3 separate regions of the Homo sapiens genome follow, and regions 2 and 3 are each linked to region 1. Evidence: promoter capture Hi-C in human tissues and cell types (Jung and others, 2019). All regions are on one chromosome and are shown on one strand. Each heading gives the region's core, a stretch centred on a gene start or on the middle of the fragment in contact. The rest is flanking DNA. Distances are from core to core; before and after follow the strand shown.

What was found. Contacts are between HindIII fragments. The study calls those that stand out against the background at their distance.
Region 2: a fragment that was not itself captured here is called in contact with the fragment with the promoter of P4HTM in region 1 in 1 of the 25 tissues and cell types used here (dorsolateral prefrontal cortex).
Region 3: a contact is called between a fragment that was not itself captured here and the fragment with the promoter of P4HTM in region 1, in 1 of the 25 tissues and cell types used here (aorta).

What each region holds. Positions count from the first base shown.
Region 1 is chr3:48,988,693-48,992,430 of GRCh38, forward strand. It overlaps P4HTM (prolyl 4-hydroxylase, transmembrane), which reads left to right and starts at 1,549. Exons shown (of 9, transcript NM_177939.3): 1 at 1,549-1,918; 2 at 2,141-2,222. The coding sequence starts at 1,565. It overlaps LOC124909376 (a long non-coding RNA gene), which reads right to left and starts at 1,180. Exons shown (of 2, transcript XR_007095903.1): 1 at 856-1,180. RefSeq lists enhancers at 269-832, 833-1,395, 1,143-1,302, 1,960-2,521 and a silencer at 1,413-1,792. The HindIII fragment of the contact is 19,056 bases long and covers 1-3,738 here.
Region 2 is chr3:48,457,663-48,460,473 of GRCh38, forward strand. ATRIP (ATR interacting protein) reads left to right here. Exons shown (of 13, transcript NM_130384.3): 6 at 1,697-1,792; 7 at 2,125-2,254; 8 at 2,448-2,811. It overlaps ATRIP-TREX1 (ATRIP-TREX1 readthrough), which reads left to right. Exons shown (of 15, transcript NR_153405.1): 6 at 1,697-1,792; 7 at 2,125-2,254; 8 at 2,448-2,811. Among named protein-coding and RNA genes, the nearest start is that of TREX1, 7.2 kb to the right of the region's middle. The HindIII fragment of the contact is 6,156 bases long and covers 1-2,811 here.
Region 3 is chr3:49,526,988-49,530,673 of GRCh38, forward strand. All of the region lies in intron 2 of DAG1 (dystroglycan 1), which reads left to right. Among named protein-coding and RNA genes, the nearest start is that of BSN-DT, 26 kb to the right of the region's middle. The HindIII fragment of the contact is 3,693 bases long and covers 1-3,560 here.

The DNA.
Region 1 (3,738 bases), core at 299-2,798:
GGCCAACATGGTGAAACCCTGTCTCTACTAAAAATATAAAAATTAGCCGGGCATTGTGGCGGGCACCTGTAGTCCCAGCTACTTGGGAGGCTGAGACAGGAGAATTGCTTGAACCCGGGAGGCGGAGCTTTCGGTGAGCTGAGATCACACCACTGTACTCCAGCCTGGCGACAGAGCGAGACTCTGTATCAAAAAAAAAAAAAAAATTATAATTAAAAAATTAAAACTAAATAATAATAAATAAAAATACAAAAAAAAAAATTGGCCCGCCATGGTGGCGCATGCCAGCTACTTGGTAGGCTGAGGCAGGAGAATTGCTTGAACCCGGAAGGCAGAGGTTGCAGTGAGCCAAGATCGCGCCACTGCACTCCAGCCTGGGCGACAGAGTGAGACTCCGTCACACACACACAAAAAATCTTAGAAGAAAGAGGTGGGCCTGCCCTTGGAGCCCCTGGCCTGCCTTGACTTGAGGGGACTAGAAAATGCAGACTATGCTTTGCTATGGGGAAGGGAGAGGAGATGGGAGTAGAGGTAGTGGGGGTCTTAACCAGGGTAGGGAGAAACCACCAGTGTGACCTGCCTTAAAAGTGTTGCTCTTGCCTGCAAGTCCACCTCGGGGAGGGGGGTCAGCTTCTGCCCTGAGGGCGTGTAGTAATCTCTTCCTGAGGATAACCAGCTCTAGAAGAGCAGGGATGCCTTGGCACTTGACCACTGGTAGGTATGTCCTCCCCCCACCCCCGTTTTTGGTGATAATCTGTTTAATTTTTCTCTGAGGTAATGGTGTCTCAGTTATGGAAGAGTCCCTTCCCGCCTCTTCACACGTGCCAGCTTTGATGCAAGGAGTGTTCCATATACCTGAGCACTGGTTCATTCCTGCGGGCTGCCATGGGGGGCTCACTTTCCTGATGCCAGGGCTCCTCCAGGATGCCCCCTCTGACGGCCTATGAAACCTTGCACATCAGGCAGCTTCTTCCTAAGGCCTGCCTGACTCCGGCGAGACTTCCCGGGAGATCCGGACCGACCGCGGAACCGAGCTCCAAGAATGCCTGCGAGGAGGCTGTGGGTCCTACCCTATCGCCGCTTACGCAGTCCCAGCCTCCGCGGCGCCCCCAAATGCCGCACTGTTGAGTCATCTCAGCGCTGCCTCCTCCGCGCTGCGCTCCCCACCCCCGCTCCTGGAGCAAGAAGATGCAGACGATACTTTTCCCGGAGGCAAGAGGGCGTCTTCACGCAGGCACCGAGAAGCTCCCACTAGTGTATGCCTTAATGGTGCCGCTCTTGTCCGCGTCTACGCTTGGGACCTTGGCTTCTGACTTGGAGAGTGTACAGCTCTGCCCGACGGCAACCCAGCTTGGGAAGAGAAGCCCCAGCGTGGGCTGGGGCTCAAGGCGCAGGAAGGCCGAGCCCGGCGCGGACGCAGGCGGCTCCGGGCGGGCTCAGCACCCCCAGGCACCGTCTCCTAGTGACCGCGGCGCTCGCGGGCCTGGCGGCCGTTGTCCGGGCGACTGCGCAGCGCGGGCACCCCCGCGGCCCCTCCCCTGGGCGCGCGCGCGACCTGGGTGCCATGGCGGCAGCGGCGGTGACAGGCCAGCGGCCTGAGACCGCGGCGGCCGAGGAGGCCTCGAGGCCGCAGTGGGCGCCGCCAGACCACTGCCAGGCTCAGGCGGCGGCCGGGCTGGGCGACGGCGAGGACGCACCGGTGCGTCCGCTGTGCAAGCCCCGCGGCATCTGCTCGCGCGCCTACTTCCTGGTGCTGATGGTGTTCGTGCACCTGTACCTGGGTAACGTGCTGGCGCTGCTGCTCTTCGTGCACTACAGCAACGGCGACGAAAGCAGCGATCCCGGGCCCCAACACCGTGCCCAGGGCCCCGGGCCCGAGCCCACCTTAGGTCCCCTCACCCGGCTGGAGGGCATCAAGGTGAGGACCTCCCTGCCCCGCCGCGCTCCAGGCCCTGCACGGCTGAGCCCGAGAGGACCGGCGCTCAGCCCGGGTCCCCACGCTGCCCCCGGCGCTGCTCTGCGTCGGTCCCGCGCGCTCCCACTCACTCGCCTGCTGTCGCTCTCCGGGCCGGGGCGACTTGGCCCTTCTTGGGCAGCGCGGTCTGGCGCCCCAGCTGCCCGCTGTGCGCCTTTTCCTTAGGTGGGGCACGAGCGTAAGGTCCAGCTGGTCACCGACAGGGATCACTTCATCCGAACCCTCAGCCTCAAGCCGCTGCTCTTCGGTAAGTCCGCCAGATACTCCTGGGAAGGGCCAGGGGCTGCGGTTTGGTGGCCACCTTGAGGCTCGTTGTGACCACGTGACCTCTATTTTGAAAATGGCTGCTTCAGAGCAGCCCTTCCAGAGGATTACCAAAGTGAAGGACCTTCCCCGTCCTCGAAATAGGGTAACACTCCCTCTTATCCCAACTCCCTGCAGTCCATTCTTCCATCACAGGGCTGGCAGGGTGAGCCTGAGGCTGGTGTCTAAACGTTTCATTGCACCTGTCTTCCGTGCCACCATTAATTCTGTCACCTTCTAGAACTGGGAGGAAGGTGGGAGACTGATAACCAGCTTTCTGCCGACCTCAGGACCTCTGGGGAAAATCCCACTGCCGAAGTGGGCCTTGTGGTCTGATGAGAAGCAGGCCGTCCAAATGTAGATAAACTGGTACCCCCCCAGCCTCCTCCACTGGAGTACCAGTCAGAGGCTCAGCTTTTGCTGCCAGCACTCTGAGATTCTTCTTAAGGTGAAGTCTTTGTTCAGCCATCATGGGCAAAGCTTTCTAGGGTGACTCCAGTTGGAGCCACAACATAGCTCATCGTTTCTGAGCTCTAGTTATGTGCTTGCCTTCATATGATTATTTCATTTAATTCCTGCAACCCCTCTGTGAAGTGGGTGTAGATCCTACTCAGGCCAGTGAGGGGGAAAGTTAGGGACAGAGAGCTGCTGTGGCTTGGCCAGGCTGACACGGTTACTTCAGTGGTGAAGCTAGGATTAGAACCCACATAGCCTGCCTCTAAGGCCTATGCAGTAAAGCCACAGTGCGAGCTGTGAAGACCCCAGAGTCCTTCAAAGACCACCAGTGTCAACTGGGTGGGGACCCCTAGTCCCATGGACATTGTCCAGGGTGTTTGTGTAGCCCAGCCCTGGGTACCTGGCCTCCGTGACAAACATATTTGCAAACCCAGGGCCATTCCTGCCTGCCGGGGGATGGAATGGGTTAGGAGCTGGGGCCAAAGTAGAACATCTGAGCACAAGTCATTACCTCCAAGGCAGAGGGTCCTGGTTGGGGATTATGCCTAGACCTGTCAGAATGATGTCATATGCATGCTGTTTGTAGGGAAATAGATTATGCTGTCAGTCCTGTTGTGGGAGAGGCACCCAAAGCTGGTTGTTGTTATTATTACTATTACTATTGAGTAACGTTGAAGTCTGTGCCAGGCACTATTTTAGGTGCCAGGAACACAGCATTGAACTAAATATAAACAATGAAACAAAACCCTGAAGCTGACATTCAAATGAAGAGGAAACAGACAATAAACAAACAAATAAATATATACATTGGTGTGTCAGATGGTGATATGTGATTGCAAACAAGTAAGGCAGATTTTTTTTCTTTTTTCTTTTTTGCCAACATAAAATAGCAGACAGGGCCGGGCGTGGTGGCTCATGTCTATAATCCCAGCACTTTGGGAGGCTGAGGCAGGCAGATCACTTCAGGTCAGGAATTTGAGGCCAGCCTGACCAACATGGTGAAA
Region 2 (2,811 bases), core at 237-2,736, 530 kb before region 1:
GTATCCTCTTAACCTGGTGGGTGGCTTCCTCTAAAGCTAGCAAATCCAGAGAGAGCGAGCCAGGCAGAAGCTATCCATTTATGGCCTAGCCTCAGAAGTCACACAGCATCCCCTCTGCCACATTGTATTTGTTAGAAGCAAATCACTGAGTCTGGGCGTCATTCAAGGGGAGAAACCAAGCTTATACCTTTTTTTTAATTTTTATTTTTTATTTTTATTTTATTATTATACTTTAAATTTTAGGGTACATGTGCACAACGTGCAGGTGTGTTACGTATGTATACATGTGCCATGTTGGTGTGTTGCACCCATTAACTCGTCATTTAGCATTAGGTATATCTCCTAATGCTATCCCTCCCCCCTCCTCCCAAGCTTATACCTTTTGAAGGGGAGTTGTGTCAAAGCATTTGTGGGCCTTTTTTTTTTTTTTTTTGAGGCGGAGTCTCACCCTGTCACCCAGGCTGGAGTGCAATGGCACGATCTCAGCTCACTGCAACTTCCGCCTCCCGGGTTCAAGTGATTCTCCTGCCTCAGACTCCCGAATAGCTGGGATTACAGGCACCTGCCATCATGCTTGTGGGCATATTTTTAAACCATCACAGCATCAATTGACCATGCCAAAAACCTAGCTAGTATGCAGGAATCTGTTTTTCTTTTCTTGTTTTTTTTTTTTTTCTTTGAGGCGGAGTCTCACTCTGTCACCAGGCTGGAGTGCAGTGGCGTGATCTCGGCTCACTGTAACCTCTGCCTCCCATGTTCAAGCGATTCTCCTGCCTCAGCCTCCCGAGTAGCTGGGACTACAGGCATGCGCCACCACACCCAGCTAATTTTTGTATTTTTAGTAGAGACAGGTTTCACCATGTTGGCCTGGATGGTCTCAATCTCATGACCTCGTGATCCACCCACTTCAGCCTCCCAAAATGCTGGGATTACAGGCATGAGCCACCGTGCCCAGCCTCTGTTTTCCTTTTGTAGTCCAGCTTTTGAGTTTTTATAACTCAGTCCAGATTGAGGGGATCTGCTGTTTTTTAGAGAGAGACAATCTAACATCAGTAGGTTTTCAGACTGCTATGTCAGTGTATCTTATAAATCGGATACATTGACCCTCTTCTTACCATCAACCTTTCAAATCCTTGGCCATCATAACACTTCTGAGAAACTGTAGCCCACTTACATTTTTGGCATCTAGCAGCTAAAGGGGCAGTGTACAGTAGTGTTACAAGCAGGCAGTAGAGCCCAGTAGCCTGGATGTGAGTCCCAGTAATGCTGTTAACTGGCTTATATGATTTGGGCAAGTCCTTTAGTCTCTGTGCCTCAGTTTCCCTATATGTAAAACAGACCTAATGATAAATCCTTGTAGGGTCACTGAGGAACAAATGGGCTGATGCGTATAGAGCTCTTAAAACACTGTCTAGCACGTAACAAGCACCATGTCAATGTTAGTGGTCACTGTTTTATCTAATTGCCTCATTTTGAGTGAGGCAAACAGCTTGATTTTCTTTTCCTTTCCTTGTATGAGTTCCTGTTTTACATAAGGAAGGTAAAAGATGCAGGGCTCTTGAGCCGCTTTGGCTCTTGTTTGTTCCAAGTTCGAAGAAGTAGAACAGCGTGTGTTTTAAACTCATTGCATGTAAAAGTTTCTAATATGCCCATGCTTCTGGGCTCAAGTTTTGATTTACATTTTATCACATTTCAGATAGTAAGCCCCACAGTCTGAGAGGTGACTCCATAAAACAAGAAGAGGCCCAGAAAAGCTTTGTTGACAGCTGGAGACAGAGATCAAACACTCAAGGTACCAGAATCCCTGCTTCTCCTGCAGGGGCCTGCATGGCTCTGAGTAATATGCAGAAGAATTGCCCAGGCCTCTGAGAACCGGTGCCCCGGGCAGTCCTTCAGAGAGTCCAGGGAAGTCAAAGTATGTGGCTTAAGCAGAAGACTTTATAAAGTGGAAAGGGCCAAGGGCAGGTATGTCCCAGAGCCTTCCGCACCCACAGGCATCTTCCTGGGGCTTAGTGGCAGCCTAGAGGACAGTTGGCATCCAAAGAATCCTTACTGTTTCCTTCTGAAAGCCACCGAAAAGATCTCCCATGTCAGAACCTTCTAGAGTCATCTTGTCTTCTGCAGGTTCCATTTTGATAAACCTGCTCCTGAAGCAGCCTTTGATCCCAGGGTCATCCCTAAGCCTTTGCCACCTCCTGAGTAGTAGTTCTGAGTCTCCTGCTGGCACCCCCCTGCAGCCACCAGGGTTTGGCAGGTAAGCATAAGACTCCTGGAAAGCTTGTTTGGGAAGGAGCTTCCTGGAAGCAAATTCCTTTCTGGCCCTGGCCAGCCTGAGAAGTCTGTGGGAAGGGCAGGCAGCCTGGAGAATTTGGCAGGCAGGCTGTTTGGGGCTCTTGACCTTATCTCCATCCCACACTTAATCTATTTTTCTTTGTGTTTGTTGCCAGTACCTTGGCTGGAATGTCAGGCCTCAGGACCACAGGTTCTTATGATGGGTCATTTTCCCTCTCAGCCCTGAGAGAAGCACAGAACCTGGCATTCACTGGACTGAATCTGGTTGCCCGGAATGAGTGCTCACGTGATGGAGACCCAGCAGAGGGAGGCAGAAGGGCCTTCCCACTCTGCCAGCTTCCTGGAGCCGTGCATTTCCTCCCCCTTGTACAGTTCTTCATCGGCTTACACTGCCAGGCCCTGCAGGACTTGGCAGCTGCTAAGAGAAGCGGAGCACCTGGGGACTCACCGACACATTCCTCCTGCGTGAGCTCTGGGGTAGAGACCAACCCTGAGGACTCAGTGTGCATCCTGGAAGGC
Region 3 (3,686 bases), core at 464-2,963, 540 kb after region 1:
TGTAGGAACTGCCTGATAGCAGAACTTTGGCTGTTGGGGTCAGCAGAATAGGAAGTGAGCCAGGCTGGGAAGCCTTGAGAAGGCAGGGCCCTTCTCTATTTTCTGTTAAAAAGTGCCCTTGTGGCCGGGTGCGGTGGCTCATGCCTGTAATCCCAGCACTTTGGGAGGCCGAGGTGGGCAGATCACGAGGTCGGGAGATTGAGACCATCCTGGCTAACACAGTGAAACCCCGTCTCTACTAAAAATACGAAAAATTGCCGGGCGCGGTGGCTCACGCCTGTAATCCCAGCACTTTGGGAGGCCAAGGCGGGCGGATCACGAGCTCAGGAGATCGAGACCATCTTGGCTAACACGGTGAAACCCCGTCTCTACTAAAAATACAAAAAATTAGCCGGGCACGGTGGCGGGCGCCTGTAGTCCCAGCTACAGGAGAATGAGGCAGGAGAATGGCATGAACCCGGGAGGCGGAGCTTGCAGTGAGCCGAGATAGCGCCACTGCAGTCCGGCCTGGGCGAAAGAGCGAGACTCTGTCTCAAAAAAAAAAAAAACCAACAAAACACGAAAAATTAGCCAGGCGTGGTGGCGGGCGCCTGTAGTCCCAGCTACTTGGGAGGCTGAGGCAGGAGAATGGCGTGATCCCGGGAGGCGGAGCTTGCAGTGAGCCGAGATCACGCCCCTGCACTCCAGCCTGGGTGATAGAGTGAGACGCTGTCTAAAAAAAAAAAGTGCCCTTGTATAGTTGAAGACAGACTTGGAGAGGCAACAGGTTGCTGACTTATCAACACTGATGGAGCGCCTAGCCACTCAGGAATGTCCCATGGTTCTAGCCAGCCATTTGGCTCCCTTCTTCTAGTCCCTCTCAACCTTGTTCAGTCTCCTCTGCAGTTGGCTTCTCCTTAGTTGGCTTTACCCAGACCTCTATTCCAGGCCTTCCCTGTCACCTTTCTTCATCCTCCCTCTGCCATGTGAGCTCGTGTCCTACTGGTGGCCATTGGGATGGAGTAGAGTTAGGAAATAACCCTCAGGTGACCAAAAACCGGGGTCCACACCCTAATTCACCTACTCTCCACCTCTCAGGACCCCTACTTCTATCCCACTCCTGTAAAACATCTCATGGGCCTTACTTATTTGCTTCATGGTGGTTTTTTGTTTGTTTGTTTTTGCAAAACAAGAGCATTCAACCTTTATTTTATGTGTTTATATACGGATGTGGCAGTTTTATTTAATATAAATGAACTGAAAAATGTAAAGCTTAGATTTTTCAGCCAAAACATTTGAAATAGTGTGATTTTTTTTTTTTTTTTTTTTTTTTTTTGGGACAGAGTCTCACTCTGTCATTCAGGCTGGAGTGCAGTGGTGTGGTCTCCGCTCACTGCAGCCTCTGTCTCCTGGGTTCAAGCCATTCTTGTGCATCAGCCTCCCGACTAGCTGGGACTACAGGTGTGCACCACCATGCCTGGCTAATTTTTGTGTTTTTAGTAGAGACGGGATTTTGCCATGTTGGCCAGGCTGGTCTCAAACTCCTGACTTCAAGTGATCCACCCGCCTCAACCTCCCAAAGTGCTGGGATTACAGGCATGAGCCACCACGCCCAGCCAATAAGTGTGATTTTTATGGTTAAAAAATATTTTTAAAGAAAAATATATTTAGCATTTTTCATGAATTTGAAGACACCCATGTTTACAGATGTTTTAACATTTCTGATGTTTGATGGTGAGTGACAGGGTGGGAGATTCTTAATTAGATGATGGCACATCTTAGAGTTGATGCAATGTGGTATCACAAAAGAAACACTATTTGCTAACCCTTAATGAGTGGCTCAGAGAGCAATTAGGAAATGATAACCCTGATAATAATAACGCCTTTTTTTTTTTTTTTTCTGAGATGGAGTCTCACTCTGTCACCCAGGCTGGGTTGCAGTGGCGTGATCTCAGTTCACTGCAACCTCCGCTTCCCAGGTTCAAGCAATTCTTATGCCTTAGCCTCCTGAGTAGCTGGGACTACAGGTGCCTGCCACCACATCCGACTAATTTTTGTACTTTTAGTAGAGATGGGGTTTCGCCGTGTTGGCCAGGCTGGTCTCGAACTCCTGACCTCAGGTGATCTGCCCACCTTGGCCTCCCAAAGTGCTGGGATTACAGGGGTGAGCCACCATGCCTGGCCCAATAATAATAATTCCTAACAATGTCAGTAATCTCATGGTTAAAAAAAATTTTTTTTTTGAAATAGAGATGGGGGTCTCACTGTGTTGGCCAGGGTGGTCTCTAATGCCTGCTGGCCTCAAGCAATCCTCCCGCCTTGGCCTCCCAAAGTACTGGGATTATAGGTATGAGCTACCATGCCCAGCTTTCTCATACATTTTTGCTGGGTGTAGGAAACCTGTTTAAATTAGTTTAAAGGGGGGAAATTATCTAGTTTCTGATAAGGCTGCTGCCTGGACACCTGGGTACAAGCCTGGGGTCTCCTTTCCAAATCACTCAAGTACTTTGTTTTTTGGCAGGAGGAAGCCCAGGGAACCAGAGGCACTGGGGAATCCAGCAGTCAGTGGCTTTAGCTTTCCTGCCACAGGGAGGGGGAAGCATTTTAGGGTCCCCCTATTGATAAGCAGTGGTCATGAAGGGCAGTCCTAAGCTGAGTCTGGGAGTGTGATGTACTGTGTTTTGGCCAATTTGTCTCTGGTACTTGTTATAGGACAATGGAGATGAGAGTGCCTTCAGGCCAACCAGAGAATGGGGGGTGTCACTTTTCTTGCATTGGGGCAGGAGTAGGTGTTTCCCAAAAGTGAAAGGAGCCACAGATGGGGCTGGGGCAAGAGCTAAGTCATATTTTCCTCTTGTCAGCTGTTGGTGGAGGTTTCTATGGTGGCATTTCCTTGGGTGCTCTGAGTATGACCAGTTATATCTCTGTGGAAAGGGACTTCCACAACAAAAGAAGTCTGGGAGATGCTGTTGAGTTGGAATAAGGTGATGAGCTCCTTAGGCCTGCTTCTGTGCCTGGTCTCTCCAAGGGCAGAAGAGGTCTCTGTGTATTTCCTGTACTTGATTGACTGTAGAACCTCTCTCTTTTAGAGAGACCAGAGCTCCTTGGGATTCCTTTAGTAAGCACTATTCTAGAATAGTTGATTCTAGTCTCTGCTCCCTGGGTACCACAGTTTGTCTTGAGATTTGAGAAGCAGGGTAAATGAAAACATTAGATACAACTAACTCTCTTTGCTACACAAATGTGCCCCACTACACTTGAATGTAACGTGATGTTGTAATGTGAGTCCTTCAGAGCGTTGAGCCTTCCCTTGTACCCAGACCTGTGTGCATCTCCACTTTGGGGCAGGAATGGTCCTCCAGGCCAGGCATGTGACCTGAGCAAAGATGTGGTGTCTGCAGAGGGCCGGGGAGAAGTCTGAGGCAAGGGTGGAAAGGAATGCTGAGGGCTGGAATGTGACTTGATTCTTCAGGTAGAATGGGCAAGTAGGTGGCAGGGCGTGTCACTGTTATAAAATCCACAACAGTCGTGAGCTCCATGGCATCAGTTCTTGGGAATGAGACATGTGCTTGAGTGCCAGCACTGCTGTCTCCCCACTGTGTGGCCTTGGGTGAGATATTTGCCTCCCAAGTTAGCCCATCTCATAGCCCTAGTCTTGTGACAGGTAAATAAACTCAGTTGTGTCTCTCTAGGGGGGAGGAATCAGC